Regions from separate parts of the Homo sapiens genome. Here region 2 is linked to region 1. The links are contacts of gene promoters, found by promoter capture Hi-C in blood cells and fetal thymus (Javierre and others, 2016). All regions are on one chromosome and are shown on one strand. Each heading gives the region's core, a stretch centred on a gene start or on the middle of the fragment in contact. The rest is flanking DNA. Distances are from core to core; before and after follow the strand shown. Region 1 holds the start of LAX1 (lymphocyte transmembrane adaptor 1). Region 2 has its middle 22 kb from the start of CHIT1.

The links. Contacts are between HindIII fragments. The CHiCAGO score rates a contact against its expected background, and 5 or more counts as called.
Region 2: a contact is called between a fragment that was not itself captured here and the fragment with the promoter of LAX1 in region 1, in 3 of 17 cell types (total B cells, naive CD4 T cells and naive B cells). The highest score is 5.4, in total B cells.

Annotation. Positions count from the first base shown.
Region 1 is chr1:203,763,106-203,766,828 of GRCh38, reverse strand. LAX1 (lymphocyte transmembrane adaptor 1) reads right to left here and starts at 1,646. Exons shown (of 5, transcript NM_017773.4): 1 at 1,175-1,646. The coding sequence starts at 1,263. RefSeq lists an enhancer at 1,404-1,763. The HindIII fragment of the contact is 21,277 bases long and covers 1-3,723 here.
Region 2 is chr1:203,249,767-203,253,470 of GRCh38, reverse strand. No RefSeq gene overlaps it. Among named protein-coding and RNA genes, the nearest start is that of CHIT1, 22 kb to the right of the region's middle. The HindIII fragment of the contact is 166 bases long and covers 1,657-1,822 here.

The DNA.
Region 1 (3,723 bases), core at 397-2,896:
GTTGATGACTATAGTTAATAAAAATGTGTCATATTCTTGAAAATTGCTGAGAAATTTTAAGTATTCTCACCACAAAAGAAAATTGTGAAGTAATGTGTATCTTAATTAGTTTAATGTAGCTATTGTACAATGTATACATATTTCAAAACAACAGGCTATCATGATAAATATATATAATTTTGATTTGCCAATTAGAAATAAATAAAAATAAATGAAGAAATAGTTTTGGAGAGATGCTTCAGGCTTCTGATTCATTGCTCATTGATGCTCATATCTACCAGCAAGTGACATGTGTTTGCCATGATAATAACATTTATTTCCCCAAACGACTGCAATTTTATTTTATTTTTTGAGACAGAGTTTCGCTTTTGTTGCCCAGGCTGGAGTACAATGACATGACACTGCAACCTCTGTTTCCCGGGTTCAAGTGATTCTCCTGCCTCAGCCTCCTGAGTAGCTGGGACTACAGGAGCATGCTACCACTCCCGGCTAATTTTTGTATTTTTAGTAGAAACGGGGTTTCACCATGTTGGCCAGGCTGGTCTTGGCCAGGCTGGTTCAAGAGTGGGGGTGATCCGCCCCACTCGGCCTCCCAAAGTGCTGGGGTTACAGGTGTGAGCCACCGCGCCCAGTCAGCTGCCAATGTTTTTAAAGTTTCAACTGTGGATGGATTTTTAATTTTGTTTGTATGAGATTGAAAGTAGTAGCAGTAATTCATACCCATGATTAGTTCTGTAAGATTTTACGTCCTAAGGACGTATCTTTATTACATCTATCACTACATTTTTTATTCATGACAAGTTTTTGGATCTCAAAACACATCCTTGGAAAACTCAGCCTTTTGTTTCTGTCATGGTGACACCTAGGAAAGACTGATGATAGGGTTCAGGGCCTCCGAGAGGTGAGAAATCCAACCAGTCTAAGCAACTAGCTTTAAGGGCCAGTGTTATCACAGTTTTTCCTCTACCACAATATTTTCTTTCTTTCCTCAATACCTTCCTTTCCCCCTAGCACCCCTGAGCAAATGCCTCCAAGCCTAGAGTTTGGTGGTTTAGTAGACCGAGCCTGGGTGTTGAGAGGTGGCAGCACTGCTGTGTAAGAAGCTCCTAAGGGTGGACTAGGACCTTCTGCCTAAATCAGGGCAGGGTGGAGCTCACCACCCTGAGTCACTCACCTGTCCAGGCTGCGGGGAGTCACATGCAGAGTGCTGGACTCCAAGGTCCTCCCTCTGATTGTCGAAAGGGTTGGAGTGACACCATCCATTGTATCAGGAACCTTTGAGATGCTCTCTGGCTTCAGCTTCTAAGTTTCTCTTAATCATAATCAGTTAGCCAGCATGTCTACCACTTCTCCCCACCCCCGCAACAAACTCCCTATCTCGTGTCTACCTCTGAAACGTCAGGCCAAGTTGACCCAACATACAAAAGCAACAGGTTTGGTTCTACCTGGACGTGGCTAATGCCCACTGCAGGAAGTGCGATCTCATCCGGACATGGTGCTTCCAAGTGAGGTGGCTCAGGGAGAATCTGTGGCCTCTGCCTTCACGTTTCTGGTGGAAACGTGAGGGGCACAGAGGGGGAAACTGCCAAGAGGCTCAAGAGAGGCTCCGTGAGAAGCTCGTCTTCCTTCAACACCCAAAGCAGAGTGAAAAGAGCAAACCACTTTGCCAGAATGGAAACAGAGAGTCAGTCACCGGAAACGACACCACCAATGTGCTAATGAAGCACAGGGCACAGGAAACTCTGCTCAGCTCTTAATCTGCTAGAAGAAAACATATCTTCAACCCACCGTTCCTGGGTTTGCCAGGTGCTCTGTGGTCTGTGATGAGTGTGATTAAAAATGGGGCAGGGTAGTAGAGAACTTGTGATTCTTCACCCTGAGTTTCTGAGACACTTAGAGTTGTATAAGTCTTCAGATTTACAGTATTTTCTAAGCAAGTCTAAGGAGCACTGGAGGTTGCCTTTTAGAGTGAAATGCAGATCTCCGGGACCCTCTTCTGATTCAGTGGGTGGAGGCTGCAGAGGGGGCAGGCTTTGGCTATCGATGCTTTCCAGGTGAATTTGATGGAGCTTTCAGGTGATTTTGATGGAGCTCATCTGTGTTTCATGTTTTGGGAACCTCTGCTCTGGGTACTACCTTAAGAATAGAAGTTATGCTGGGTTAGCAGGACCCCTGCTCCCCCAAGGCAACCTTCCACAGCTCCTGGCTGCTGGTGATCTCCTGTTCTCAGGGCTCTTCTGAAGATCAGTCACAGTCTTACTTGTCACACACCTGTCTCAGAAGCTGAACAAGTTCATCCTTAAGAGCTACCCAAAGTGTTTGAAGATTGTTCAAAATTTATTGCTAACTCCCCTCCCTTCTTGAGCCTACTAATCTCCGGAAACACTCTTTGCATCTTGGGAGAGTCCAAAGAGAAGGGGCCACTAAGACTGTTGTAAGGATGTGAAGAACCTCTCTGATTGCACTTTCCACAAGGAAATGGATTCCCAGATGAATGGAAGGGCAGACCAGCAGTACCCTCCTAGAACCATGCCTCCCTCCCATCTCTTCCCAGTGGACATTGAGGTCCTCAGCTTTCCTGAGGTGGCAGCCCCTGGCCTGTCTGCATCCAGACTCTCACAGAGTCCCCAGGGGCTGCAGACTGGCCATGGCTGGCTTTCCAGGGAGCTTTATCATTCCAGGTCCTGGGCCCCTTCCCTCCCAGGAGCTTCACCTGGTAGGAAGCAGAAATGGCTCAGAGGCAGCTGGTGCTGGAGCTGGAACCTGGGTCTCTGCCCACTTCTCCTTTGGATCAGGTCTGAGTAGGAACTAGGACTACTCACAAGATCCATCATGCTGGTGGCAAGGACTGGGGTCCTGGGCCATTGGAACCAATAAGGGACTGTGAGAATCAGGACCTCGGAAGGCAGTACACGGAAAGGGCACATGGAACCAAACCTCAGAACCATGACTGCTAATTAAAAAAAAAAAATTTTTTTTTTTTTTAAAGAACTTTTCCATTGCATGTGATCATTTCAGGGCCTCACTTATCTTATCTACCCAATCTGCTGCAGTTAGACCAATCTTCCCTCTGGTTGTCCAATTCTCTCCTGCCCCCACATCTCAGGGAAATCACCACCTCAGAGGCAGCTGCCCAAGTTACCTGCCTCAGACTGCAGGTGAGTGCCAGGATTCCAGGCCTTGGCTGTGCCCCTCATCCTGCTCTCCTTTCCTTCCCCATGGGGCAAAATCCAATCAAACTGACAAACTAAAACAAAAAGTAGGTAGCTGAAATGATTCATCATAATAGCGGGGAAAAAACAACAGCAACAACAAAAAACACTCGTTCCTGGGAAATGGGGTGTATTTTGTTGTTGTTGTTGTTTTTTTGAGATAGAGTTTTGCTCTTGTTGCCCAGGCTGGAGTGCAATGGCATGATCTTGGCTCACCGAAACCTCCGCCTCCCGGGTTCAAGCAATTCTCCTGTCTCAGCCTCCCGAGTAGCTGGCATTACAGGCATGCACCGCCACACCCAGCTAATTTTGTATTTTTAGTAGAGACGGGGTTTCTCCATGTTGGTCAGGCTGGTCTCCAACTACTGACCTCAGGTGATCCGCCCGCCTTGGCCTCCCAAAGTGCTGGGATTACAGCATGAGCCACCGCACCTGGCCAAGGAGTGTATGTTTTAAATCCGATTGCTCTCGTGTTGTTGATGTTGTTTTTTTCTGAGACAGGGTTTCACTC
Region 2 (3,704 bases), core at 490-2,989, 510 kb after region 1:
GGTACTGAATTACTTATCTGATGATTAAGAATGAAAGAGCCGTTTTCTTTGCAGTCCAAAGGCAAACTTCTGTAGGGAATTCTAGCTAGGGAAAGTGTTATACCCTCTTCTTATTAGTTTCCCCCAGGGAGGAAAGAGTGTGTCTATGGAGAAATCTAATTACAATTTTCTTTGCCCTTTTTGAAATACAAAGGGACAGATTTTCCCCTAATTTATCTATGGAGACACACCTATGTAAGAGAACAGGCAAACAAGTAAGCAAGCAAGCAGTTTTTCTGAATTAAGGGGCTTTAATCAGGAAACCACCACATGGTACTCATTAAAAGTAGATTGTTAAAACATTAAGAGGTTATGTTTCACGTAATTGCAATGGTTACCACAAAGACAGTAACTATAGAATGTAAGTGCTATGATTTGAATATGGTTTATCCCCCACTGAAATTCATGTTAAGGCTTGTTCCCCATGTAATGGTGTTGAGAACTGGTGGGACCTTTAAGAGGCATTTGGGTCATAAGCCATCTGTCCTTATGAAGGGATTAATGCCATTTCACAGGAGTGAATTATTGCTCTTCAGTGACTGGATTAGTTACCGCAAGAGTGGGTTGTTATAAAGTGAGGTCACCCCTCATGTTTTCTCTCTTGTGTGTGTACCCGCTCAGTGCTCTCACATGCATAACCACCATGTGATGCCATCCTCCATGTTATGACACAGCATGAGACCCTCGTCAGATGCAGCTGTTTGATCTTGAACTTCCCAGCATCAAGAACTGTGAGCTAAACAAACCTCTTTTTAAAAAATAAATTACCTGGTCTCAAGTATTCTGTTACAGCAACAGAAAATGGACAAAGACTGTAAAGGAAAGGAAGTGAGAAGGGAATCAAAATCTGTGGCCACAAAAAAAAATTAATGAAACACAAAAGAAATTATCAAAAGAAAAAAGGGGGGGGGGACAAAGAAAGCTACAAGTGAAACAGAACACAATGAACAAAATGGCAACAGTAAGTCCTTCACTATCAGCAATTTCTTAAAATGTAAATGCCATTATGAGCAATTATATGCCAACAATTGGATTTGGCAATAATTTCTTGGATATGATACCAAAAGCACAGGCAACAAAATAAAAAATAGACAAATAGTACTACATAAAACTTAAGTTTTTTTACACATCAAAGTAACAGTCAACAGAGAGAAAAGGCAACCTATGGAATGGGAGAAAAGAGTTGCAAGTCATATATCTGATAAGGGGTCAATATCCAGAATATATAAGGATCTTGTACAACTTAACAACAAGAAAAACCCCAAATAATCCAATTTAAAAACTGGCAAAGGATTTAAATAGACATTTCTCCAAAGAAGATATATGAATGGTTATTAAGTACATGAAAATATGCTCAACATCATTAATCACTAGGGAAATGTAAATAAAACTCACAATGAGATATCACCTCACACCCATCAGGATAGCCATTATAAAAATAACAGGAAATAACAAGTGTTGACAAGGATGCAGAGAAGTTTGGGTCCTCATGCACTGGTGGTGGGAAAGTAAATTATACAGATGTTATGAAAAACAGTATGGAGTTTCTCAAAACATTAAAAATAGAACTATCATATGATCCAGCAATCCCCCTTTTGGGTATATAGCCAAAAAGCTTCAAAGCAGATCTCAGAGATATTTGCACACCCATGTTCATTGCAGGATTATTCACAATAGCCAACAGGAGGAAATAACAGGTAATTGGATAAGAAAATGTGGTATATGCACATAATGGAATTTTATGTGCCCTTAAAAAAGGGCATGTTACAACATGAATGAAGCTTAAGGACATTATGCTAAGTGAAATAAGCCAGTCACAAATGGACAAATACTGTATAATTCACTCATATAAAGTATCTAAATAAGTCAGAATCCTCAAAACATAAAGTAAAAAGGTAGTCGCCAAGAACTTGCGGGAGGTGGGATGGGGAATTCATGTTTGGTAGGTATAGAGTTTCAGTGTTGCAAGAAGAAAAATTTCTAGAGACTTGTTGCACAAGTGAATATACTTAACAGTACTGAAATGTACATTTAAAAATGTTTAGGATGGTTTAATGTTGTGTGGTTTTTACCACAATACAAAAAAAAAGACTCAGCTAAGAAAACGAACAGGCAAAACCAAAGGCTGGTAGAAAACATTCACAGTACATATATCTGAATATGGATTTCTATCCAGAATAATAAAGAACTTCTAACACAATAAAAATGTGGATGACAGACTTGAGCAACATTTTCAGAAGCAAACAAAGACATATGAATGGACAAAGACATATAAAAAAAGTGCTCGACATCATTACTCAGCAGGCAAAGGCAAATTAAAGCCATAATGAATCACTACATGCCTACTAGAATGTCTAAAATTATAAAGACTGTCAACACCACATGTTGGCAAGCATTTGACATAACAAAAACTCTCACGTTGCTCTTGGATGTGTGAAATGGCACAATTACTTTGAAAAGTTGCTTGCTTGGTAGCTTCTTATTAAACATAAAGCTAGCTGATGACTCTAATTTTACACCTGTGTATTTATTCAAAGTAAATGAAAACATATGTCCACGAAGAGACGTATACATAACTGTTCATAGAAGCTTTGCATTTCTGATAGCCAAAACTGGAAATAACCCAATGTTTATGAAGTGGGATATATTCATAAAATACAATACTTCTTGCAATTAAAAGAAACAGACTACTGATAACAACAAAATGGATGAGTCTCAAAAACTTTATGCTGACTGAAACAAGCCAACATTAAAGAGCTCTCGGTGGCCAAAGCTGGAAAAATTTGAGCAGCAAAATAAATAATGTACTAATAGTATTTGATTATAACTCAAAACATAAATAAATATCTATGAGTCCATATGGATATAAATAAATGATATAGTAAATAAATGGGAGAGAAGGGACAAATGTCCCATACAGAATTATATAATAAAGGTATGTAGTTGCTTCTTCCCCAAGGAAGTGGAGCTTAACTCCTCACCCCTAGAGTGTGGGCTGCACTTACTGACTCGCTTCCAAAGAGTAGAATAGGGAAGCCAGGTGGAGAAGTAGAAACCTGGCAAATAGTATCCCGGCCTGGTAATCAAGATTAAAAAGATCAGTTATGTGGATAATACCTACCTTTTAGTTTTAGTTTTTTGAGACAAGGTCTCACTCTGTCACCAGGCTGGAGTGCAGTGGTAAGATTTCTGTTCACTGCAACCTCTGCCTCCTGGGTTCAAGCGATTCTCCTGCTTCAGCCTCCCAAGTGGCTGGGATTACACGTGCATGCCACCATGCCTGGCTAATTTTTGTATTTTTAGTAGAGACAGGGTTTCACCGTGTTTGCCAGGCTGGTCTCCAACTCTTGACCTCAAGTGATCTGCTTGCCTTGGCCTCCCAAAGTACTGGGATTACAGGCGTGAGCCACCACACCCAGCCTGGGGTGAGATTTTTATTCTATTCTTTAGAAGAATTTGAGAAAGTTTGGCATTTGGTAGAATTTGCCTATGAATCCACTTGGCCAGGCTGGTCTCGAACTCCTGACCTCAAGTGATCCCCCCAACCTTGGCCTTCTAAAGTACTAGGATTGCATGTGTGAGTCATTGCATCCAGCAGATAATACCTACATTTTTAATGAGATGTAATGAGGATGGCACTTCACCTCTGTGGTTTACCTCCCCAA